7 separate regions of the Homo sapiens genome follow, and regions 1, 2, 3, 4, 5 and 6 are each linked to region 7. The links are contacts of gene promoters, found by promoter capture Hi-C in blood cells and fetal thymus (Javierre and others, 2016). All regions are on one chromosome and are shown on one strand. The core of a region is centred on a gene start or on the middle of the fragment in contact, and the rest is flanking DNA. Distances in the headings are between cores, read along the strand shown. Region 1 overlaps SYN3 (synapsin III). Region 2 overlaps SYN3 (synapsin III). Region 3 overlaps SYN3 (synapsin III). Region 4 overlaps SYN3 (synapsin III). Region 5 overlaps SYN3 (synapsin III). Region 6 overlaps SYN3 (synapsin III). Region 7 holds the start of TIMP3 (TIMP metallopeptidase inhibitor 3).

Region 1 (3,678 bases), core at 804-3,303, 230 kb before region 7:
TCATACATAAAAATATATATAAATATATAAGTATATATAGGAGACCGAATCATGCCCTGTGCCCAGGCTGGAATTCAGTGGTGCGATCCTAGCTCACTGCAGCCTGGAACTCCTGGGCTCAAGCAATCCTCCTGCTACAGCCTCCCGAGTAGCTAGGACTACAGGCATGCACCACCGTGCCTGGCTAATTTTTAATTTAATTTAATTTTATTATATATTTATTTATTTATTTAATTTTTTTTTACTCGCTCTGTCCCCCAGGCTGGAGTGCAGTGGCACGATCTCGGCTCACTGCAAGCTCCGCCTCCCAGGTTCACACCATTCTCTTGCCTCAGCCCCCCCGAGTAGCTGCGACTACAGGCACCCACCACCACGCCCAGCTAATTTTTTGTATTTCTAGTGGAGATAGCGTTTCATCATGTTAACCAGGATGGTCTCGAACTCCTGACCTGGTGATCTGCCCGCCTCGGCCTCCCAAAGTGCTAGGATTACAGGCATAAGCCACCGCGCCCAGCCTATTTTATTTTTTTAGAGATGGGGTCTTGCTATGTTGCTGAGGCTGGTCTCAATCTCCTGACCTAAAGTGATCCTCCTGCTTGGGTCTCCTAAAGCACTGGGATTACAGGTGTGAGCCACTGCACCTGGCCAGGGTATTTTGTTTAACCCGATATAAAAAAAGTTCTCATTTCAATGTGTAATCTATATAAAAATTATGATTGAGATATTTTATGTTCTCTTTTTTGTAACTCTAGTCTTGGAATTGGGTGTGTATTTTATACTCAGCCTATCTCAATAGAGGCATGTGTCAAGCACTCAGTAGGTGCACGTGGCTGATGGCTACCAAACTGGACAGTGCAAGATGGAGGGATCTGTGGACAGTGAGAAAGAGAGAGGGGGCAAGGTCAGAACCGTAGGGCACATGGATGCTCAAGGGAAGGGTGGAAGAGGAGCTTGCAAAGGAGCCTGGGAAAGCCTGGCTGGAGACAAAGGAGGAAAGGCAGCCAGCATGGTGTCCCTGAAAGTGACGTAAAGTTTGTGTGTTAAGAGATGGGTACAACAGTGACACAACCCGGAGGAGAGCAAGCAAAACAAGGGGCTGAAGACTTTATCAGGATTTTCTATTTGGAGGTCATGAATTATCTTTGCCAGACCAAACTTTGTGGAGTGGTGGGAGCTGATTCAGGGAGCTGGAGAGAATGGAGACAACTACAGGCTCCTTTTTAAGAAACTTGGCTGAGAAGGTAGGTAAAGGGGTACAAGGGCTCAGCAAAGACTTATTTATTCTTTTCAAATCTAAATGAGACTTGAACATTCTTTAGTGTTGAAAGATGCCCTTCAGAAAGCAACATTGAGCGCCAGGAGTGAGAAGAAACGGACAGGTAGCCAAGTCCTAGAGGCTATGATGGAAATGAGAGCCAGAACTCAGAGGTAAAATGAAATCTACAAAGGAGAAAAGACTCCACTGAGATGGGAAAGAAGGTGTGGGGGCAGGCAGAGGTGCAGGAAGATGAACTTTGATACAGGGGAATGGATTCTCTTCTTTGATGGGAAGGACGTGGGGCTTGAAGAGAGCAGCAAAGTTCTGGAAATGCCACAGTGAGACTGGGAAAGGTAACTGACTAGGGAGATGTAAAAGCTTCACCAGGACCCACTAGGGCCCTGCTGGGGTTGGAGATGAGGCATTTGTAGTAGGAGCATGAGATCAGTGATGAGGTTTTCTCCAACTGTGCTCAGCAGTGTCAGTTTAGGAAAGGAGAAGGCCCATCGGTGGATTGATTCAAGGTTGAGTGTTCTAGGGCAGGTGCAATAGAACGATGACGGAGATCCTCCCTCCCTCCCTCCCTCCCTCCCTCCCTCCCTTCTTTCCTTCCTTCCTTCCTTCCTTCACCAAAAATGTATTAAGGGACTGCTGTATGCCAGGTACTCTGCTAGGTGGTGGAAATAGAACACAGAGCCAAAAGAGATTAAGATTCCCGCCTCCATGGAGCTTATGGCAATGGTTTTCTGCAAATTCTCAATTGGTCCTTAATATGGAAGGGGAAGAAAAGGGTTATGTATTGGGCCTCAGAACATTAGCTAAAAAATTGGGATGGACTGATACATTTCACATGTGGAGCTGGCATGGTCTACTGTGTGGTCGGGGAGAGGGTGGCTACTTTGGACAGTGGATACCAATCTTGAAGTCATGGAAGTAGGGATTATCATCCACATATCCCCAGATGGGGTTGACGAGCCTCAGAGGCAGCACGTGACCAGCCCGAGGTCACACAGCCAGGAAGTGGGAAGATTGTCTGGGCCCAGAGTCTGCTGTTTTTACTTTCCTATACTCCCAAGCTGATGAAACCCCAGGAAGAGGAGGTTTATTGAACTCCTTGCGGGTATAGGTTCCCTGCCTCCCTCCTCCTTCTCTTGCCAACCCTGATTTGGGCCAGAGCCATGGCCATTTTATGCATCAGTGTTGTTTGGAGGGGGAAGCTTGCTAATGAGGATGATCCCCAGTTTCAGAAGGGACCGGACGGTCACAGCTGCATAAAGTCCTCTGGATGATTAAAGCTCCTCACGGGACAGGCAAGGCTGTTAGAATCTTCCTGGAGTTGACAGGCAAAAGCACAGCCAGACCTTTGCTCCTAGCTGCTGTGGAGAGCTGTGCCTCTGGGAGGTCCTGAATGACACCAGCCTGGGCTCCCTGTACCTTTGCTCTTGTTTCCTTCCTGGAATGCTCTCCTTGCTCCTCTACCTAATTCCTACTCATTCCTCAAAACCCTAAAACTCAGTTCCTCCTCCAGCTCCTAGGAATTTCTCTTTCCTCCTCTGGACTTCCACAGGGCTTTGTATTTAGTCTACAAATATTTATTGAGGGTACTGTGCTAGGCATTGGGAATACAGTCATAAATAAGACAGGTATATTCTAGTCAGGGAAATGGAAAACAAATAAGCAGATAGTGTCTTGGGTCCATTGGGGTTGCTCTAACAAAATACCATAAACTGGGTGGCTTATAAAGGACAGAAACGTATTTCTTACTGTTCTGGAGGCTGGGAAGTCCAAGGTCAAGGTGGATTCAGTGTCTGGTGAGGCCCTGATTTATTCCTGTAACCTCACAGGATGGAAGGGACAAACAAGCTCCCAGGGCCTATTTTAGAAAGACACTAATCCCATTCCTCAGGGATCTGCCCTCATGACCTCCCGAAGGCTCCACCTCCTAATTCCATCACCTTGGGGGGTAGGACTTTAGCATATAACATATTTTAACATATCTGTAGCAGACAGATAGGTGGATACCTAGCTAGCTAGGTTGGTAACAAATTGGTAGAAAATAGCTAGTTTGCAAAGACTTTGAAAGACACAACCGGAGAGTGTCCTAGGGGATGTATTACTTTGTATTGCCTGAATACTGAGGGGCCTCCTGAAGCTAATCAATCAGGCTGGGTTTGTAGAATTCCATTTGATGGGTGTTTAGGCTGCACTATGACACACATTCTTCCCATGCAAGTCACAAAGTTGTTAGAGGAATCAGAAGAAATTTTGCAGGCAGCACAATGCAAGTATATAGATGACGGGGTCAGGATGGTCTAGATTCACATCCTAGCTTAGGGACTTACAAATGCCATGATTTGGAATGAGTTCTTAAGTCTTTCTGGGGTTCAATTTCCTCATGTGTAAAATGGAGATGATAATAT
Region 2 (3,544 bases), core at 214-2,713, 150 kb before region 7:
GCACACTTCAGCTTCCCAAATTGCTGGGATTACAGGAGCCGCTACACCTGGCTTAGCTTTTGAGACTCTATTAAGGAGAGTCTTAGTTTGGTTCCTGTGCTCTTTCAACACCTCCCCAATATTAGCAAACCTCCCACTTTCCTGGAGAGCTTGGAGCCCATAGCAAGCAAGAGTATCCAGCATGAATTCAATAATATTGCTTTGTTCTTGTGTTTTTTATGGTTATTTTCTTTTGTCAGGAGATACTGGTTTTCCATTTATGGTAGTCATCAGTTTCTTTGAAAATAGGTTTATTGAAGATAAAACTTAAAAATATCAATAATTATATGAATTACAGTATACACAGTACATAAATATGGTAAAAATTGTAAAGGTTGTGACCAACGATTGAAGTTTGGGAAACCCGGACTTAAAGTTTTGGCCCCAGTGAAAATCCTGCCCTTAGTAGTTTAATGGAAAGAGCACAGCATTGGTTAGAAATATCTGCATTTGAGACTTGGCATTGTAAAGCCCTGTTTGGCACATATTAGCTACATGACCATGGGCAGGTTGATTAACCTCTCAAAGCCTCAGTTTCATTAGCTGTAAAATGGGAACGTACTACCTCTTGAGGTTGCTGAAAGATTAAATGACATCACACACACAGAGTATACGCTGAGCTCAGAGCCTGGCTCACAGCAAACAACTAAGATGGACAATTATGATTTTTGTTGTTGTCCAAGAAGCACCTCTTTTACTCTGAGGTGCCACACAACAGTCATTGGCCACTCATACCAATGAATGTGCATTTTACATTTTCTCCCTGCAGGGAGTTTGGATGGGCACAAAGTAAAACAAAGAGGCCCCTGGATGTGAAGGAGTGTATGAAATTAGGAAACAAGTATCTCCTGACCACCTATTACAGTTGATTGTATCATCGTTCCTAATTCTTCACCCCTCTCTGTATCAATACCTGTTGTCAGGTGACTTGATAGTTTCTTCCACTAGAGGCGGAGTATACTTCCCCTATCCCTAATTCTGGGCTTGGTCATGTCGCTTATTTTGGCCAATGGGCTGGTAGCAAACGTGACACAAACAGTGGCTTAAAATGTGCTTGTGAATTTGGGTATGACCCTCTTGTACTGCTGCAGTTAGCCATGTCCTGGCTAGCTTGCTGGTCCACTCAGCGCCAGGCCTAGAGCAGCCAATTCCCATCTGACCTGTGAGAGCAAGAATAATTATTTTTTAAGCCGCCGAGCTTTGGGATGGTTTATTATGTTTCAAAATTGTGACAATAGATGTTAATGACCCCTAGTATGTACCGAGTACAGGCATTTTCGTATAGTCTATTTAATTTCATCTTCAAACATCCCCATTTACTAATGAGGAAATTGAGACTTTGAGAAAGCCCTCCTGGTCCAAGATCACACAGAAAGGAAACAGCTGAGCTTGGAGGCAACCCTGTTCCAACTCCCAGAACATGCTCTTCTTACTACACCACGGAAGAATGGGGTGGTGGGAGGCGGAACACAACAAAACTAGCTTCGCGGCTGGGCCCAAGGCTGGTCCCATCTAGAGTCATCTTTGAGACCACAAGAGCCAACATCATAAATCTAGAATTGTGACAACACAGGATGACTCAGGCAGGGGGTGGCCGGACAGGGAAGCCCTGGTGAGGGGCTGGTTGGTTATAAAACCTCAGTCTAAATAGGGACAGGGCGGTAACATTAGTAGACAGGGCTGGGCCACAGAATCGGGTGGTTTAGGACAAATAATGACTTGAAATTTATTTTGGAAAATATTTTCCCAAGTGTCTCACTGGGCCTTGTGGGAATGAGAAAATCAGTGGGGAAAAAGCCAGGAGAAAAAGCTGATGAGGCTGAGAAGGGGCTCATGACTAGTAGGCTTTGATTTCATAAAATTCAGAGCATTAGATGTTCCTGGAGGTGAACTCTTACTCATGCTATAGAACTCTTCCCCCAATTCCCCCGCTCTGTGAGTTATCCCATCATAAGACAGACGCAATCTCAAATTTCTCTATTCATTCTCCAACAGTTATGACAACGGCCAGCATTCATTGAGCATGTACTAATTGCCAGACACTATTCTAAGCTCTTTACACTTTTCTTTCTCTCTCTCTCTCTCTCCCTCCCTCCCTCCCTCCCTCCCTCCCTCTCTCTCTCTCTCTCTTTCTTTTTGAGACAGAGTCTCACTCTATCACCCAGGCTGGAGTGCAGTGGAGCGATCACAGTTCACTGCAACCTCTGCCTCCCAGACTCAAGCAATCCTTCCACCTCAGCCTCCCGAGTAGCTGGTACCACAGGTGTGTACCTCCATGCCTGGCTAATTTTTGCATTTTTGTGGAGACGGAGTTTCACCATGTTGCCCCGGCTGGTCTCAAACTCCTGGGCTCAAGCGATCCCCTCATTTCAGCCTCCCAAAGTGCTGGGATGGCAGGCCACTCTACCTGGCTGCACTTTACACTTTTATTGGTCCTTTCAATCTTCACAATAATGCTAAGCAGAATATGCTCCTACTCTTTCCCATTACACAAATGAAGGAGAAAAACAGAGGCCCAGAGATATGAACTACAAAGCCCAGGCTCACACAGCTGGTCAGAGGCAGGGTTGGAACTCTAATTTGAGAGAGTATGCTCTGACTCACTATGCCGCGTGTTTACTGTACAGCGCTGTGACAATCTGAGTCTCTTATTAAATGAGATAATGCATGCCAAGCACTTAGCTTCTTGCCCAGCATTAGAGACGGCCAAAAATATTACAATACCAAGTATTCTTATGCTGATATGAATTTTATTTTATTACCTTATAACAGCTGCTTCCCCAGTCCTCCTTAGAGAGGAAAGTCTTTGTGGGGAACATACTTAGCGACTGGAATAGAAGGTCAGTCACTTGAGGGTCTGGGGTCAGCTGCAGCCAAGTCCTCATGGGTGGGAGGGACTGGGGAGAAGAAATTGGAGATCTTGGCCAACTGTGAGGGGTCTGAGGAGTAGAGATGGAAGAGCACAGAAGGCCAAGAAGACAGACAAGGGCTCTGTATTGTGAGATAAGACTCCCTTCTTGGGACCTCACTAAGGAGGTCAGTGAGTCTACTAAACACACTGCTCTTGGTAGGAGACATTTTCGCTTGTGGCGGGAGAAAGAGAAGCCACTGAACTTGATGCCAGCATTGATGTGTGTGGGGTGATGGCCATGGGGGAGTCAGTGCCCCAGAGGAAGTTCAGAAGAAGATGAGCCCACCAGTGATTAGCAAGAATCTGAGAAAGGCCAGGGAATTTTCCTTGAGTTAGGAGGTCTCCAGCTGGCCTCTGGGTAGGGTTGTTATTTTCGATGGTGTGGCTAACATTCTTGCCCCTCTCCATGATATGCATGTTTCTGGAGCACACAGGTGGGGCATGATCGCTCCTCTGGCTCCCCCAGGGCCAGCTCAGTGAGAAGTCAGGAAGCCTTGGATGCATGCTTGAATGAATGAATGAATGAATGAAAAGGCTTTAAACTGAGGATGGCCCATGCTTGCTCAGATATACATCAACTCAGCCACGCGTGAT
Region 3 (3,709 bases), core at 540-3,039, 200 kb before region 7:
GAGTAGCTGGGACTACAGGTGCCCGCCACCATGCCCGGCTAATTTTTTGTATTTTTAGTACAGATGGGGTTTCACTGTGTTAGCCAGGATGGTCTCGATCTCCTGACCTCGTGATCCGCCCGCCTCAGCCTCCCAAAGTGCTGGGATTACAGGTGTGAGCCACTGCGCCGGAAGTCAAGTTTATGTGTCTTGACTCTCCATCAAGCACTCTCTCCATCAAGGCACACTTTTCTGGGAATCATATGCATATCTGGGGTGTAATAAATGCTCCCCACCCCCCATGATAGTGATCAATAAAATAATATCAAATCAATTGCGTGGGCACGACTGAATGAGAACTATGTGGCTAGTTATGTGTCTTGTGCTGGTTGGGGCACACCAAAGGTTGAGACAAGATTTCTGCCCTCAGAGGATTTATTATCTGCTTGGACCCATGGGCTGTACAATGAAAGAGCAGAGTGAGGCAGCATGGCAGGAAGCTGTGGGGTACGTCGCGGTCATGTGCAAGTCTCCAGAGCAGAGCCCAACATTTTTGGCACCAGGGACCAGTTTTGTGGAAGAGAATTTTTACACGAACTAGAGGGGGATGAGGGGATGGTTTTAGGATGATTCCAGAGCATTGCATTTATTGTGCATTTTATTTCTATTATTATTACCTTGTAATACATGATGAAATAATTACACAACTCACCATAATGTAGGATTAGTGGGAGCCCTGAGCTTGTTTTCTTGCAACTAGACAGTCCCATCTGGGGGTGATGGGAGACAGTGACAGATCATCAGGCATTAGATTTACATAACGAGAGGGCAACCTACATTCCTCGAATGCGCAATTCACGACAGGGTTAGTACTCCTATGAGAATCTAATGCTGCCTCTGATCTGACAGGAGATGGGGCTCAGGCGGTCGTGCGAGTGATGCAGAGTGGCTGTAAATACAGATGAAGCCTCACTCACTTACCCACGGCTCACCTTCTGCTGTGCAGCTCTGTTTCTAACAGGCCATGGACCTGTACTGGTCTGTGGCCCAGAGGTGGGGGACCCCTGCTCCAGAGGAAATGAGGCTCTGACCAGGGTTCTGAAGGATGAGTAGGTTGTGGGTGGATGGATAGAAGGCACAGAGTTCCCCCAAGGGTGAATGGTGCAGACCACCACGGTCTTCCCGTGGGGCATGTTTAGATTCTTCATGAGCTCTAATAAACAAAGACCCATAGGAAGGAAGGATTTATTTTATGCAACTTAATATGATTTTTTTTTTTTGAGACAGAGTCTTGCTCTGTCTGCCAGGCTGGAGTGCAGTGGCACAATCTCGGCTCACTGCAACCTCTGTCTCCTGGGCTCAAGCAATTCTCCTGCCTCAGACTTCCGAGTAGCTGGTATTACAGGCTGTGCCACCATGCCTGGCTAATTTTTGTATTTTCAGTAGAGACCGGGTTTCACTATGTTGGCCAGGCTGGTCCCGAACTCCTGACCTCAGGTAATCCACCCACCTCGGCCTGCCAAAGTTCTGGGATAACAGGCGTGAGCCACCCCTCCCGGCCACTTAATATGATTTGATCTGCAATAAATCTATTTTGCAGGTGATTGCTGAACAGAATTGTATATTTGAACGGCATGTCCTTCTCCAGGGTTCTTAAATGAAATTGGAGGAATGTGTTCATTGCTAGAAATTGTGGAGTAGGTGCTGTATCTGTATTTAGAGAACACAGAAAGTCAATCTAGCAAAATCTGAGAATGTTTAAGTAAGATATTTCACAGAAAACATTTCAGAATTCATCCAAAGCAATGGATTTTCCTGATACTAGGGGAAATTTTCCTTTGCCTTTTTTTTTCTTTCTTTTTTTTTTTCTGAGATGGAGTCTTGCTCTGTCGCCCAGGCTGGAGTGCAGTGGTGCGATCTCAGCTCACTGCAAGCTCTGCCTCCTGGGTTCACGCCATTCTCCTGCCTCAGCCTCCGGAGTAGCTGGGACTACAGGCGCCCGCCACCACGCCCGGCTAATATTTTGTATTTTTAGTAGAGACGGGGTTTCACCGTGTTAGCCAGAATGGTCTGGATCTCCTGACCTCGTGATCCACCCGCCTTGGCCTCCCAAAGTGCTGGGATTACAGGCGTGAGCCACTGCGCCCAGCCTCCTTTGCCATTTTTTACTTTGACTTGTGGGAAACAGCAATCTTTTTAGAACCACGTATGGGCTGGCAAGACTCCGGGCTAGTGCTGGGGACACAGAAGAGGTAATTTGGGGCCAGATTATTGGGGGCCTTTGAAACCAAAGAGGGGAGTTCAGGTTGCTTGGATGGACAGTGGGGAAGCAGGATAGTTCTGGAACCGGGGAGCGACCTGCCAGCTGTGGGCAGGATGGATTTGTGCTAGTGGTGACTGAAGGGCCAGGGGCCAGTTTGGAATTCATTCTAAAGACAGTAAATGCCACTGGTTGGGCCTGGACTGGGAAGAAATGGTAGAGGGAGTGGGAGCACTCCCAGAGCTTTTCTTTTCTTTTCTTTTTTTTTTTTTGTGACACTTCTTTATTGAAATAATAGTATTAAAATGACCAGAGAAATTCAAGACAAAAATTGTCTACAATCTCATTGTCTAACCAAATCAGTGTTTGCATTGGTCCACATTACCTTATAATTTTTATATGTCCAATAAAACCCCCAGGATACTTTACAACAATATTAGAGGTAGAATTTTGCATCTATCTTCTCACTTAATATTATACCATAAGTGTTTTCTTATTTTTGCTACAGATGTTTTTATTTTCTTCTATCTTTCCCCACTCCCCTTCTCCAGACCAGGTAACTAATCTCACCTCCCCAGTGTGTCTGGGGTGTATTCCTGCCCATCCCTCACCACGTGCAATCTTTGCAAACACGTATGCACGGATATGGCTGAGGCTGATGTTTGTATTTTTGAAAATAGCTCTTATCTCTTAACGTCACACTGTATACACCCCTCCTCCCATGTCAATAAAGATAGTTCTATCCCGATAGTTTTTTGTTTTGTTTTGTTTTGTTTGTTTGTTTGTTTGTTTTTGGAGACAGAGTCTTGCTCTGTTGCCAGGCTGGAGTGTAGTGACACGATCTCAGCTCACTGCAACCTCCAACTCCCTGGTTCAAGCGATTCTCCTGCCTCAGCCTCCTGAGTAGCTGGGATTACAGGCACGAGCCACCATGCCCAGCTAATTTTTGTATTTTTAGTAGAGACGGGGTTTCACCATGTTGGCCAGGATGGTCTTCATCTCCTGACCTTGTGATCCGCTTGCCTCGGCCTCCCAAAGTGCTGAGATTACAGGCGTCAGCTACCGCGCCCAGCCAATCCTGATAGTTTTAATAATAGCTGCACCGTCTACACATGTACACGTGCACTGGTTTCCTATTAATAGACATTTGTGTTATTCATTCTCTCTCTGCTACTATAAACGAGACTTCATTAAACATCTTTGTACACATGTCCTTATGAGCTAGTGTTTTAATTCCTCCAGGCCAGTCCAGGAGATTTTCAAAGGGAGAACCAGCAGAATTTGGAGACATTCTTTTTTTTTTTTTTGAGATGGAGTCTCGCTCTGTCGCCCAGGCTTCTATTTCTAAAGTCAGTTGTTAGAGCTCAAGAAATGAAACCGGATGCCATGGCATTGCATACGGGGTGAATCAGCCACCATATTACCTCCAGGCTAAAAGTGACTGTATTTATTGTCATGTAAGAAGGGCCA
Region 4 (3,548 bases), core at 1,037-3,536, 250 kb before region 7:
CCTCAGGGCCTTTGCACTTGCTGTTCCGAGCCTGCATGGGGTTTCACCATGTTGGCCAGGACGGTCTTGAACTCCTGAGTTCAAGCCATCTGCCCACCTTGGCCTGGCAAAGTGCTGGGATTACTGGCTGAGCCATGGTGCCTAGCCTCAGGTTATTTTATTTTATTATTTATTATTATTTTTTTGAGACGGAATCTTGCTCTGTCGTCAGGCTGGAGTGCAGTGGCACGATCTCAGCTCACTGCAACCTCTGCCTCCTGGGTTCAAACGATTCTCCTGCCTCAGCCTCCTGAGTAGCTGGGACTACAGGCGCCCACCACCATGCCCGGCTAATTTTTTGTATTTTTAGTAGAGACGTGGTTTCACCATGTTAGCCAGGATGGTCTCAATCTCCTGATCTTGTGATCCGCCCGCCTCGGCCTCCCAAAGTGCTGGGATTACAGGCGTGAGCCACCGTGCCTGGCCTAAAATATTTATATTTTTATGCCACCTGTTCTAGAAAGAATTTATGGCAAATTTCAAAGATATATAACATACAACATGAGACGTAATTAAAAGCCGGATGATAGTAATTCCACTATTAAACATCCATCCTAAAGATATAATGGAAGACACATGAAATGGTATGCACGCAAGGCTGTTTATTGCAGCACTACGTGTAAAAGAAAGTTTTCTGTCAACAATTGGGCCATGTTCTATGATCTCAGAGGTTTATAGCTCCACCTTAAGCCTTGAGGACAGGATGAAGTTAGATGAGACCCTGAAGACAGGGGTGGGCGGCCTAGAGCTGTGGATGGAGCTGGAGGGATGTTGGGATGGTCCTCTGGCCAGAGGAGGCATTTGGGATAAGAAGGTATGTAGGGCGGACTGCCACCGGGATGGTGCATTGACTGCTGACCCACATGCTCCTCAGCAGGGGACAGCTGCATCCATGGTGCTCCATGCACACAATCGAATGCTTTGCAGTCAAGAGAAGGCAATGAGGAGGATCTACATACTGCTATGGCGTGAAAAAAATAGGGTGCAGAATAATGAGGATAACATGCAAGCTTTTTTTTTTTGTTTGAGACAGAGTCTCCCTCTGTCACCCAGGCTGGAATGCAGTGGCATGATCATGGCTTACTGTAGCTTCAACCTCCTGGGCTCAAGCAATCCTCCTGCCGCAGCCTCCCCAGTAGCTGAGACTACAGGCATGTGCCACCACATCTGGCTAATTTTTTATTTTTTATAGTGACAGGATCTCACCATGTTGCCCAGGCTGGTCTTAAACTGCTGGGCTCAAGCAATTCTCCGGCCTTGGCTTCCCAAAGTGCTGGGATTACAGACATTAGTCACCATGACCAGCCAACATGCAAACTTTTATCAAGAATTTTTTTGTGGACAATGCACATATTTGATTAAAAAAATACAGGCTGGGTGCGCAGGCTCACGCCTGTAATCCCAGCATTTTGAGAGGCCAAAGTGGGTGGATCACTTGAGGGCAGGAGTTTGAGACCAGCCTGGCCAGCATAGTGAAACTCAGTCTCTAGTAAAAATACAAAAATTAGCCAGGCATGGTTGTGTGCACCTGTACTTGGAAGGCTGAGGGAAGAGAATTGCTTGAACCCAGGAGGTGGAGGTTGCAGTGAGCTGAGATTGCACCGTTGTACTCCAGCCTGGGCAGCACAGCGAGACTCTGTCTCAAAAAAAAAAAATGCAATGAAGGAATGAACCAAAACCAAATGAGAATGTTACCTATAGAGGGAAGGGAAGCGGGAGGTGACGGGGATGGAGGCTAGTCCTCACTGTATATATCTTGTTTTTATAATTTTGGCTTTGGAATCAAGCAAAAATGGTTATTAATTATAAAACAAAATAAATCAACTGGAGAAAGAATTTCCTGAAAACAGAAAACAAAATAAAGTTAGTCTAACAATATATTAAGCTAGTGGCTTAAACTTACAGAGAAGAATTATTTCAAGTGACTTTGTAACAGAAGGCTGAGCACGTGGATCTCTGTGATATTCCATTTCTTAGATGAATAAATTCTTACTATTACTTATAACCCACAGTATTATAATATACTTATTTGACTGTCCTTCACACTAGAATTTATTTCTTAACAGCCTGATCAGTAATTGGCACATGGTAGATGTTCTATAATTTGTTTAACCACATTAAAAAAAAAAAAAAAGCTCAACACAACAGTAACTATATATCCCTAGCAGAAAATATCCAAAAGATTTTTTAAAACTGCTAAGAAATATAAAATTTTATTCAACTTGTTAGTAATAATAATGGTATTGCTATTTTAAACCATGATAATAGTAATAATGCTATTAGGACCCAAGATTTTTAAATATAAGAGAAAAGAGATACAATTTTAAAATAAAATAAATAAGTGTTGTAATCTAAGATTTGAATTCAAAATATCAGGATGAATTTATGATGTATTTTTCTCTTAAAAACATATATGCATTTTTCCCTGTGTCTGCCAAAAAGGCCTAGAAATGGCAAAAAAAAAAATAAGAATAAACATATTTAGCACCCAGATTGTGGTCTCTAAAACCCATTATGTTATTGAAAGGCTTCCATGGCTCCTTGGGGAAATGACTGATTCCAGGTTTGGGCAGAAAATGTACAAGATGAGTTCAAAACATCTTATCATGCTAGTAAAAGGAAAGCTACCATGTCAAGAAGACACATAAATCAACTCAAAAGGGCTCCCATTAGCCAAAGATGGGATAACTTGAGTATCAGAAAGAATAGTGACTTCAATAGATTGAAATACATCAAATTGTTAATAACCAATGACAAAAAGATCATTGGTCATGTTTGGAGGGTGCTAAGACACTATCTCACTATTCCAAAATAAATGGGTAAATAACAGTGATGAAGAAATATTCTCTTTGATGTTTTCTAGCTACTAAATGCAAAAGAAATAGAATTAGGACATCATCCTTCTGCAGCCCCTAATGCAATAACAGATTGAGGCAATGCTGATCAATGCCAAGGCCACTGGGGAAAGGCTGATGGGAAACTTGATAATGTGTGGATCAGGCAGACGATACCTGAGCTCAAGGACCACTCTTGACATCTCAACAGAGAGACTTGCCAGTCAGATGTGATGCAAGATAATGGCCCCTACCCCCACCCTGCACCAGGGAAGTATTCTTGCCAGAATCCAGAACCTGATTCAGATAAAAATCTCTGCATTTAACTACTAGTTTACAGGAAATGCAGGTGATAGAGGAACAACATGGAGCTGCCATTGGCCAAATTAGCATGTAGGAAATTCTACAGGAAAAATGGCCTCCCCCCACCAACAAATAAATGACAAGGAAAAAAAAAAAACAGAGGAGACTGAACTGTTATAGATCATAAGAGGCTTATGTCATACTAACCATGTGAATATGAAGGACTTGTCTGCATACAATGGAACACATCAATTAACAGGAGGCTATTGAACACTGATGATATACTAGATGATATTAAAGAATTATTATTATGTTTTTAGGTCTTTGGCTACATTAGAGACAAAAAAAGAAGCTTTTGTGTGTTAGAAATAT
Region 5 (3,617 bases), core at 1,002-3,501, 130 kb after region 7:
ATGCAGAGAGGGAGTGAAACAGAATCTTGGAAGATAGAATCTCTGACTCAAAAGTGGCAAGGACCCAAGGGCTGTCTCGCTGCCCAAATGGAAAGAGAGATACCTGGAGAGAAGTCACACTCAGGCTTGGATGTACAAGTTAGAGGTTCATCTTGTTCAGATGTGGGTGTCTAGAGTTATTTCTCAGTTGTGGTTTATGAATAATTACAGGAGATAACTGCCTGGGTTGCAAGGTAGCCAGCTTCCGTGGGATCAAGCAGAAAGGTGGCCTAGCAAAGTAAAAGGGCATTCTTCTGTTATTTAACTGTCTAAAACCTTCAGCACCATGGAAATGAACACAGAGGTGTCCAAACCACCTTCCCTTCAAGATAGCTTGATAGCCTTTCTGGTAGAATATGAAAGAGCAGCCATTTGGAAGACTCTCATGAAAATTGTAGTGAATTGAATTGTATTCCTCAAAAAGCTATGTCCAAGTCCTAACCTCTGATACCTGTGAATGTGACCTCTTTGGGAACTAGGGTCTTTTCAGATGTAATCCAGTTAAGGATATCAGATGAAATCATCTTAGACTGGTGGGAGTTGCGGGGGAGGCACACTAAATCCACTAACAAGTCCTTAGAAGAGAAGAGACGAGGAAAAGACAGAAAGACACAGGAAAGAAGATCATGGGAAGATGGCAGCAGAGATGGAGTGATGCTGCCACAAGCCAAGAAATGCTGAGAGTCACTAGAAGCTGGAGGAGCCAAGGAAGGTCTCCCCTGGAGCCTTCAGAGGGTGTGCAGCTCTGCTGAAACCTTGATTTGGGAATTTTGGCCTCCAGAACTGGAAGAAAATAAATTTCTGTTGTTTTAAGCCACTAAGTGTATGGTAATTGTGGAACCTAGCAAATTAAAATAATAACTTTGGGAATTGAATGCAATTTCAGTATCATATTCAAAGTCACCAGGGCTCGAAGAAGGTCAATGTGGCCAGGTAAAGCTCCTTTATTCACTTCACCAAAAACATGCGCATAGAAATCTGCACCTAGACTCATTCTCTCTCTCTCTTTCTCTCTCTCTCTCTCTCTCTCTCACACACACACACACAAAATAACAAATTAGTTATTCACCTATATCGCAAAAAACGCTACTATCAGAATTACTTAAATATTCTGCATGAGCTAACCTTTTCACCACAAATTATTTTGACCTCTAAGGCTTTTGGTATGGTATTTTTTTTTTTTTTTTTTTGAGATGGAGTTTCACTCTTGTTGCGCAGGCTGGAGTGCAACGGCGTGATCTCAGCTCACTGCCACCTCCACCTCCCAGGTTCAAGCAATTCTCCTGCCTCAGCCTCCTAAGCAGCTGAGATCACAGGCACCCGCCACCGCGCCCGGCTAATTTTTGTATTTTTAGTAGAGACAGGGTTTCACCATGTTGGCCAGGCTGGTCTCAAACTCCTGACCTCAGGGCGATCCACCCGCCTCAGCTTCCCAAAGTGCTGGGATTACAGGCGTGAGCCACTGTGCCCAGCTGGTGGGATAACATTTTAATACTACACATTAGGCACTGTGGTATGGACAAATGAGTACTCAGAGAGACTACATTCACATGTAAGCTGTTCAATATACTAGCTGATGAGTTTAGTGAAGTTACTGATTTGAATATCAATTTTGATATCTTTAAAACAGAGGTAATGATATCAATAATATCTATCTTTAAATGTTTTTGTGATGATTCAAGACAATGTATATGAAACATCCAGCACAGGGCTGAGACTCAGTAAATAGTTGCCATTATTATTTTCAAATATTCCATTGTCTTAGTAAGCTTAAACTGAAAGCATCCAAACTGGTGTACCCTGAAAAAGAACAACTCCTTCAAGTATTTATAACATATACATTTAAAAAATATATGGAGGTGTGAAATGTAAAGACTTCTGCATATGGCAACAATGAAGTACCAGAGATTACATATACACTCCCATCTTAAACAACAATAAAGCCAGACAAACTGCATTACATATCAGTTTTCAGGAACTAGACAACAGGCATTTCAGGACTATGATTCCTGTAAGAGGGAACAAAATTATCCCTATGTTTATCCTAGCTTACTGCCTAGAGGCAGTTTCCAGGCAGCAGAACAGCATGGGAGAAGGCAGAGTTCATCAGTTTCACTGAGTTAAGGATACAAAGATTGAAGTTCAGGGTAGCCATGGCAGCTAAAATTTGCAGGACAGAGTATAGGAAAAGATGAATCTGCAGAGAAAAAATAAAACAAACAAACAAACAAACAAACAAAAAACCTCACAAACTCCAGGGAGATCTATGTCTTTCGCTGAGTAACTAATTTGAGCATACATGAAAGGAAAGTAATCAAGGCCAGGAAAAAGCCATTAGGAAACAATCTCCAGAATCCACAGAGCTGGGAAGAACCCATGTGCTCACCAGCTAGAGGGTAAAGACCTTGTCAAATGGGTAGGTTACTCAAAATTTCATAGTGGGACTGAATTATCCCTGGCCAACAGCATGCTCTGGATCTAGGACGACCAGTTTGTCCCGGTTTGCCTTGGGCTTTCTCAGCTTTAAAACTAAAAGTCCCATTTCTCAGAAACTCTTCAATCCCAGTTTTACAGTGAAAGTCCCATGTCTTGGAAAACTCCTTAATCCCAGGCAAACTAGAATAATCAATCACTCCATGTAGATCTGTCCCAAGAAAAGCTTAAAACCAAGTCTTGAATGGATCAAGTTTATTACAAGTAACTTAACTGCATCTCAGAAAAAACTAAACCACTGTTTAAAGGAATCTAACAAAACCCAGCACCCAACACATCACATTCACAATGTAAAAGTAGTGACATTCAATCACAAATTACGAGGAATGCAAAGAAGCAGAAGAATATGACCCACAACAAGGAGAAATCAACGAATAGAAACAGACGTGGAAATGGAGAGATGATGGGAAGAGCAGAAATGGAAGTTAAAACAACTGTTATAAAGAGGTTCTCAAGAATGTAGATGGAAACAATACAATGGGAGAGAAAGAAACATATTTTAAAAATTAAAAATGAAACTTGTAGAGATAAAAATTATAATATCTGAAATAGAAAATGCACCGCTAGGCTTAACAACAGATTAGACACTTGTATCAGTCTGTTCTACACTGCTATCAACTACCTGAGCCTAGGTAGTCTATAAAGAAAAGAGATTTAATCAGCTCACAGTTGTGTGGGCTGAACAGACTTCTGCTTCTGGGGAGGTGTCAAGAAACTTACAATCATGGTGGAAGGCCAAGGGGGAAGCAAGCACTATCCTCATATGGCAGAGAAGCAGGAGAGAGAGAGAGCAAAGGGGGAAGTGCTACACACTTTTAATCAACCAGATTTTGTGAGAACTCTATAATGAGGACAGCAAGGCGGATGGTGCTAAATCATTAGAAACCACCCCCATGATCCAGGCACCTTTTGCCAGGCCCCACCTCCAACAGCGGGGATTACAATTCAACATGAGATTTAGGTGGGGCACAGAGCCAAACCATATCATGCTGCTGAAAAAAATGCTAGTGAACTTGAAGAGAAAACAATAAAAACAACCCAAAATGAAGCACAGAGACAAAAATACACACAAAAAAAAGCAAAGA
Region 6 (3,566 bases), core at 1,053-3,552, 170 kb after region 7:
TTTCTCTTTAGCTTCTTTCATCTTTCCCCACTCTGGATAAGTTTGAGAAATATATATTGAACACAGATTAGGTATCTGGGTCCTTGGAGCACCTATTATGTACCGAATAAGTGTCCTGCCAGCCTCCCCACCACAGTCTACCATAGCACTGTGTACCCTACTTTCACGGCTTCTAACAGTTTGTAATTATGGTGCGTACGTGTGTGTGTGTGTGTGTGTGTGTGTGTGTGTGCATGCTTGTGTGTGTGCGTAAGAGAGAGAGAGACAGATAGATAATATGATTAATTTCTGGCCCCTGCCATTAGATGTTAAGTTCCATCAGGTAGAGATTCCATCTGGCTTTTTCGTTGTTGTTGTTGTTGTTGTTTTATGATGGAGTCTCGCTCTTTCGCCCAGGCTGAAGTGAGTGGCACGATCTCGGCTCACTGCAAGCTCCGCCTCCCGGGTTCGCGCCATTCTCCTGCCTCAGCCTCCCGAGTAGCTGGGACTACAGGCGCCCGCCACCACACCCGGCTAATTTTTTGTATTTTTAGTAGAGACGGGGTTTCGCTGTGTTAGCCAAGGTGGTCTCGATCTCCTGACCTTGTGATCTGCCCGCCTTGGCCTCCCAAAGTGCTGGGATTACAGGCACGGGCCACCGCGCCCGGCCAGATTCCATCTGTTTTTAATCACCATTGTAACCTGAGCACGCAGCACATAGGCAGTCAATGAATATTTGTGGAATGAATAAAGATACTGTCCCTGTTCCCAATGAGCCCAGAGTCTACAGGGAGCGAGGGGCAGGTGAATTAGTAATCTCAAAGTCATCTGGGAAGTGTGATGTAGACACAGGTATGAGGTGCTAGGGGAGTACAGGGAAGAGGCACCTCACCCTGCCTGGATGGAGGGGGAGGGCAGAGGAAGCAGCACAGACATCATGTTGGAGCTAATGTTGAAGAATCTATGGCAAAATCTAAGAAAGGATGTCCCAGGAGGAGAGACGTGCATAAGCAAAGGCATGGAGATGTGACTCCAAGATGGTATTACCATGGGTGGGCACTGGGGAACCACAGCAGTTTGGTGAGACCGAAGTCTAAGGTAGAGCACGGGAGGAGATGAGCAAGGAAAGGCAGGCAGGGGCAAGCTCATGGAGGGCCTTGTGTGCAGAGCTTGAGACCCCCAAAACAAGTCTAATGCACAGGTCAGCCCTTTATGCATGAGAGGAAAGTGACCAAGCCTTCCCTGGATTTTACTGCTTCAGGATACACCTTCCCAGATGAGCCAGCATAAAGATTAAGAACCATAAACAGGCAGGGCATGGTGGCTCACACCTGTAATGTCAGCACTTTGGGAGGCCAAGCTGTGGGGACCACTTGAGCACAGGAGTTTGAGACCAGTCTGGGCAATACAGTGAGACCCTGTCTCTACAAAATATTTTAAAAATTAGCCAGGTGTTGTGGTGCGCACCTGTCATCGCGGCTACCCAGGAGGCTGAGGTGAGAGGATGGCTTGAGCCCAGGAGGTTGAGGCTGCAGTGAGCCATGACTACACCACTGCACTCCAGCCTGTGTGACAGAGTGAAACCTGTCTCAAAAAATAATAAAATAAAATAAAAAGAACCATAAACACAGATTCTTCAGTTAAACTGACTCTGAATTCCAGTTCTGCCACTTGTATGCTGTGTGGCCTTGGGTAAGCCTCAGGTTCCTCATCTGGAGAATGGGGGAACTCATAGTACCTGTTCATCAGAGTCATGATGAGGATGAAACACGCTAATCCATATGAAATGCTTAGCGTGTGCCTGACACTTAGTAAGCATGTGATTAGATACTGCCTATGATCATTAATTCCTTCAGAGCCCAGGCTGTACAGCTGCCATCTGCCTCAGGCACCGCCAGTGGAAACTCTCTCAGGTCACCCTCTAAAACTCCCTGAGATGAGGGGGCCAAGACTGGACCAAAACGGGTCCAGTTTAGGTTGAATTCTATTGTAAAGTAAATAGTGCCTTAGAACTACTAAAATCCTATGTGATACTAAAGATAGACATTGTAGGGCACATAAACTCGTTCTCTGCTATCAGCCTCCCAGCTCCTTCCTGAGGGACTAGAAAATGCGCCCAGACTGTGTATGATCCAAAGGAAGTCATTTCAATGCCTAAGTCCTGTTGATATGTCAGCTCACTCCCCTCCTCAGGAGACTCTGCTTAGAGTGGGCTGGGAGATTCCTTAGACAATCTAATAGATTAGTTTCCAGTTTAGCATAACAGCCAGACAGATTTTTGCAGTGAAGTCATCCAAGTCAATTAAAAGGCATTTTTCCCTGCTGTGAGTTCAGAAGTCCCTTTGGTTCATTCCAGTTTTCTGGGATGTTTCATAATAGGTTCCACCCTAGGTTAATTAATAACCCTTGATTCCCACTGAAATGCAAAGGCTCAAATCCACTGTGTAAGCACATCCGGGCAGAGGCTGCTGGCAGGGCTGGGGTGAGCCCAGTGGGGGCTCCTCTCATCAGGGAGTGGGCCAGACCCCAAATGGTACAGACAACAGCAGAGCTGGCAGAAAATGTAGAGTAGCCACACAAAAGCTGAAGGCCACGCTGGAGAAGTGGTGTAACCAGGGGCAGTAGCGCATGGGGAGGGAGATCATCAACAGATGAAGGAATCACAAGGCTGGGGATTAGGCAGATTGGGAGCAAGTTGACATGTGCAGTGTGAAACGGCTTAGTCCAAGTGGCTGGACTAAGGTGGTGAACAAGAGGAGGTTGGCAATGGCTCGCTTTCAAGAAATGCCAGCTGAAACACATCATGTGGGTCTGACTCCATCCTCTCAGTCTTAAGAAAAATAGGTCATCTCTTCTCCTCCAGTTTCAAATACGAATTACAGGTATGAGAATGGCTCAAGTGGTTAAGGAACACAGTGGCGAGGATGTACATGCATTCACTTAACACTTATGAAGTCCCTTCCATGTGCCTCCTACCCAAGCATCATATTCAAGGATGAGATGACTTTTGCACCAAATCCAGAGCTGAGCTTTTCTGCCTCCAGTCTCAAGCCACCATTCCTATCCAGCGAATCTTCTAAGACCACTGTCAGCCTGTGCATTCTAAAATGAAATCACGGTCACAGCACTCCATGGCTTAAAAAGTTCAATACATACATCCTGCCTCTAGGACACAATTCTTAGTTGCATGCCTTGCACTAATAGCCCACCCTGAATAGACTGCCCTCCACCTTCTTTGTCAGCTTCGTCTCCCACCAACCCTTCTCATGCATGGCATACCCTGGTCATTTGCCCTGTACGTGACAAGCTGAGACTTGAATCATGCTCTTTAGCTAGAAGGCCCAATGTGCACATCTGCCCACTCACCCTCACCTAATTCTTGTCCCCAAACCCAGCTGCACATCAGGTTCTCTGTGAGGTCTTTCCTGAGAACATCCCAAGGTTAGACAAATCTCTACGATAGAGAGATCCTCGTCGCAACACATTTTGGCCACTGCCTTCAATGTCTATCTTCCCACCAGATAAAGAACCCTTTGAGTGTGGAGGGCTCTGTCATTAGGACAAAGTACAGAGCAGGTGCTCGGTGA
Region 7 (3,487 bases), core at 442-2,941:
GACAAGTCAAAAAGATGTGGAAACTGGTTTCCCTTTCCTATGGCTAAAGTGCTCAAAGGGGAAAAAGGAGTTTCAAAAATGTTCTTGGAAATACCATCTCTCACGAATTCTTCGGCCTCTGCTGTCCCAATGTCACTTGTCTGAGATGTAAACAGAGGAGTTCTGAGAAAGAAGCTGAACTTGCATTTCTCCCTGTTTCTATTTGTTCCAAACTTGTGGCATTTCTAACAGGATGAAGCGGAAGAGAAAGGGAAAGAGACAAAAGTGTAGAAAGATGGAAGATCCCAGCTGCAAATGGCCATTTGCAGTTAGATGGAACAGCTGCTGACGTTCAGGGAAATGCATGTCTCTCTTCAGATGGGAAGGAGCAGTGGAAAGGGGTGACGAGTTCCTGGCTGGCCACCAATCATCCCATCTTTCTGTGCCGGTTCCTCATCTGGAAAGTGGGAGTGATACTTGTGCTTGCTTTTCCTACCCACAAAGATTATTGTGAGAGCTATAATACGGTGAGATACAGAATCCTGCTTTTAAAAATACAAAGCAGAATCAAGATGTCAATAATAAGGATAGTAATTGTGTTAGTTATCTGCAATCATCTATTATAGCTAGTCGTCTAGGATCCTGGATCGTTCTCCTGGTTTTACTACAGTTTTGGATCAGCTCACCCCCAAATCCCTTGCTGAAGGGTGGAGCTCTGTCAGCCATGGGCAGGGAACCACTTCCTCTTGCCTTTCTACTTTCTGTCTTTCAAACATGCCCAGGGTCTTTGCACTTGCTGTTCCCCCTGCCTGGTACCTCTCTCCTGTGGCTTGCCCCAGAGCTGATCCTTGTCTTTGTCCACTTCTCAGCGAGGATGGCACTTCAGGGAGCCCTTCCCTTACTATCGCAGAGAGAGCAGGCCCTCCCCAGTCATGTCCAACCCAGAACTCTGTTTTGTTTTCTTCATAGCCCTAGCATCACAGAAAATCACCCTGTGCATTCATGGATGTCCACGGGGGCAAGGGCTTTGTGTTGCTTAACCCAGCATCCTGAACCGTGTTTGTTGAATGAATACAGAACCCCGTTTGCTCTGGGAGAGCACAGAAAACAGTCTTCTATCATATATCATAGCCAGCTGCAAACAGCAGATGGCTTCCCATATCCCAGAGAGTAAGAACCAGAGAGAGAGAGAAAGAGAGAGAGTTTGGGTCTTTCTCCTCTGTGCCTGCTCTCTCCAGAGAAACTGGAGGGGTAGCAGTTAGCATTCCCCCGCTGGTTCCACCAAGCACAGTCAAGGTCTCTAGGACATGGCCACCCCTCACCTGTGGAAGCGGTCCTGCTGGGGTGGGTGGGTGTTAGTTGGTTCTGGTTTGGGTCAGAGACACCCAGTGGCCCAGGTGGGCGTGGGGCCAGGGCGCAGACGAGAAGGGGCACGAGGGCTCCGCTCCGAGGACCCAGCGGCAAGCACCGGTCCCGGGCGCGCCCCAGCCCACCCACTCGCGTGCCCACGGCGGCATTATTCCCTATAAGGATCTGAACGATCCGGGGGCGGCCCCGCCCCGTTACCCCTTGCCCCCGGCCCCGCCCCCTTTTTGGAGGGCCGATGAGGTAATGCGGCTCTGCCATTGGTCTGAGGGGGCGGGCCCCAACAGCCCGAGGCGGGGTCCCCGGGGGCCCAGCGCTATATCACTCGGCCGCCCAGGCAGCGGCGCAGAGCGGGCAGCAGGCAGGCGGCGGGCGCTCAGACGGCTTCTCCTCCTCCTCTTGCTCCTCCAGCTCCTGCTCCTTCGCCGGGAGGCCGCCCGCCGAGTCCTGCGCCAGCGCCGAGGCAGCCTCGCTGCGCCCCATCCCGTCCCGCCGGGCACTCGGAGGGCAGCGCGCCGGAGGCCAAGGTTGCCCCGCACGGCCCGGCGGGCGAGCGAGCTCGGGCTGCAGCAGCCCCGCCGGCGGCGCGCACGGCAACTTTGGAGAGGCGAGCAGCAGCCCCGGCAGCGGCGGCAGCAGCGGCAATGACCCCTTGGCTCGGGCTCATCGTGCTCCTGGGCAGCTGGAGCCTGGGGGACTGGGGCGCCGAGGCGTGCACATGCTCGCCCAGCCACCCCCAGGACGCCTTCTGCAACTCCGACATCGGTAAGCGCTCCTGGTGCCCCGCCCGAGCCCCACGCTGCAGCCAGGACTGCAGCGCTGCTTAGGGAGGCAGGGCGAGCCCCACTCCTTTCCTCTGCCCCAGGAGAGGGGCAGACGGGGTTGGGGCGGAGTGGAGAAACTCGATGTCCTTGGGCGGGGGCGCTGGCATAGCTGAGAGGGGAAGATGCCCTGCAGAGGAAACTCACAGTGGCTGAGGGAGCCCCTGGCCGCCTTTGCTTTCCTAACTTAGGTCGTGAGGTTCCTACCGGTCCTTTTGACATCTGGAAAATGTCCCCATTCACTACTAACGGAGGAAGGGCTAGAAGAGAAGGGTGGGGAAAGGGTTCCCAAAACTTGGAATGCTAACTAAAGTGCTGGGAAATTGAATAGTTAAAAAAAAAAAAAAAAGTTGCCCGCCATGTGCACGGAAAGTTGCAGGAGAAACTTGGAGTACTCCGAGTCTGCATCATCTCCTGCGCCTATGAAATTCATTCTTTTCACTGAGACCCAACCCAGCTGCAGGCTTCCCAGGCAAGCGCTAACCGAGCTTCTGGGACTGCCAAGTTTGGGTGGATTTAAGGGGGAAAATGAGGAGAAAGCTGTGGCATTGACCCACGCCCTGGAGGCACTGTGTTTGAGAGTGTTGATAGCCAGCAGAAGGTGCGAGGGGTCACTCACCACATAGCTGTGAAAATTCACAGGAAGGCTATTTTTTTCCCCCTTGAATGTGTGTGGGGAGGGGGAGAATGGGTAGTGGAAAACAGATTTGTCACCAAAAGAACAAACCTGCCAAGGGTCACATCACGGTGACAGTTCCAGACTGGACTTAGTGTCTTGAGTAGAGAGACCCTGTAAAGAGACCTCCTACTCCTTAGTGTGTATGGAGGGCCCCGAGAGCATCCTGGGAGGCTTGTCTGGGAGTGTTTGGGACACTTGTGTTTGGATGGCTAAAGGTGGAGTGGCATCTGGGAAACATCTCTCTCCTCCTTTCCAGCCCATAAAGCGTGCAAGTCCAGTGGCTCTGCTGGGAGAGTGTGTGTGTGTGCACTGGGCTGGGCTGGGCGGTGGGGTGGGACAGCCTTGCCGCCCTCTGCCTGTGTCGATTCAGAGGTGAAGAATGGAGCGTGTGTGTTTTAAGTACAGTCATAAAGGAGAAGGAAATTTTCCACTGAGTCTTGGGTGAGGGACTCTACCAGCGTGTTGTGGTGAGGAGGGGGAGGAGGTAGGAGCTTGGCAGGGGAGGCAGTGAGGGCCGGGAGGGGCACTGCTGGTGGGCTGGGCTGAGCCTAGAGGTCAGAGTGGGGGTGTGGTGACCAGAATGTCAGTGCAGTTGGCAGCTGAGGGTGTTTGTGTGACCTGAGGTCACCCTTGTAAGAGGCTC

The links. The method cuts DNA at HindIII sites, captures the fragments that hold promoters and counts their contacts. A CHiCAGO score of 5 or more calls a contact.
Region 1: a fragment that was not itself captured here is called in contact with the fragment with the promoter of TIMP3 in region 7 in 7 of 17 cell types (megakaryocytes, M1 macrophages, M0 macrophages and 4 more); the score reaches 10.7 in megakaryocytes.
Region 2: a contact is called between a fragment that was not itself captured here and the fragment with the promoter of TIMP3 in region 7, in 11 of 17 cell types (megakaryocytes, monocytes, M2 macrophages and 8 more). The highest score is 16.4, in megakaryocytes.
Region 3: a fragment that was not itself captured here is called in contact with the fragment with the promoter of TIMP3 in region 7 in 1 of 17 cell types (fetal thymus); the score reaches 5.6 in fetal thymus.
Region 4: a fragment that was not itself captured here is called in contact with the fragment with the promoter of TIMP3 in region 7 in 10 of 17 cell types (erythroblasts, megakaryocytes, M1 macrophages and 7 more); the score reaches 10.3 in erythroblasts.
Region 5: a contact is called between a fragment that was not itself captured here and the fragment with the promoter of TIMP3 in region 7, in 1 of 17 cell types (erythroblasts). The highest score is 6.1, in erythroblasts.
Region 6: a fragment that was not itself captured here is called in contact with the fragment with the promoter of TIMP3 in region 7 in 3 of 17 cell types (erythroblasts, megakaryocytes and fetal thymus); the score reaches 8.8 in erythroblasts.

Annotation. Positions count from the first base shown.
Region 1 is chr22:32,565,496-32,569,173 of GRCh38, forward strand. The region is part of intron 7 of SYN3 (synapsin III); the gene reads right to left. Among named protein-coding and RNA genes, the nearest start is that of SYN3-AS1, 7.6 kb to the right of the region's middle. The HindIII fragment of the contact is 839 bases long and covers 1,635-2,473 here.
Region 2 is chr22:32,648,108-32,651,651 of GRCh38, forward strand. The region is part of intron 6 of SYN3 (synapsin III); the gene reads right to left. The region is part of intron 1 of LOC105373002 (a long non-coding RNA gene); the gene reads left to right. Among named protein-coding and RNA genes, the nearest start is that of SYN3-AS1, 75 kb to the left of the region's middle. The HindIII fragment of the contact is 8,009 bases long and covers 1-3,544 here.
Region 3 is chr22:32,599,447-32,603,155 of GRCh38, forward strand. The region is part of intron 6 of SYN3 (synapsin III); the gene reads right to left. Among named protein-coding and RNA genes, the nearest start is that of SYN3-AS1, 26 kb to the left of the region's middle. The HindIII fragment of the contact is 8,146 bases long and covers 1-3,709 here.
Region 4 is chr22:32,548,207-32,551,754 of GRCh38, forward strand. All of the region lies in intron 7 of SYN3 (synapsin III), which reads right to left. LOC124905103 (a long non-coding RNA gene) reads left to right here. Exons shown (of 3, transcript XR_007068067.1): 3 at 1-2,868. Among named protein-coding and RNA genes, the nearest start is that of SYN3-AS1, 25 kb to the right of the region's middle. The HindIII fragment of the contact is 2,479 bases long and covers 1,048-3,526 here.
Region 5 is chr22:32,934,239-32,937,855 of GRCh38, forward strand. All of the region lies in intron 3 of SYN3 (synapsin III), which reads right to left. Among named protein-coding and RNA genes, the nearest start is that of SYN3, 120 kb to the right of the region's middle. The HindIII fragment of the contact is 890 bases long and covers 1,807-2,696 here.
Region 6 is chr22:32,965,345-32,968,910 of GRCh38, forward strand. The region is part of intron 3 of SYN3 (synapsin III); the gene reads right to left. Among named protein-coding and RNA genes, the nearest start is that of SYN3, 91 kb to the right of the region's middle. The HindIII fragment of the contact is 4,613 bases long and covers 1-3,566 here.
Region 7 is chr22:32,800,014-32,803,500 of GRCh38, forward strand. TIMP3 (TIMP metallopeptidase inhibitor 3) reads left to right here and starts at 1,692. Exons shown (of 5, transcript NM_000362.5): 1 at 1,692-2,109. The coding sequence starts at 1,989. All of the region lies in intron 6 of SYN3 (synapsin III), which reads right to left. The HindIII fragment of the contact is 16,798 bases long and covers 1-3,487 here.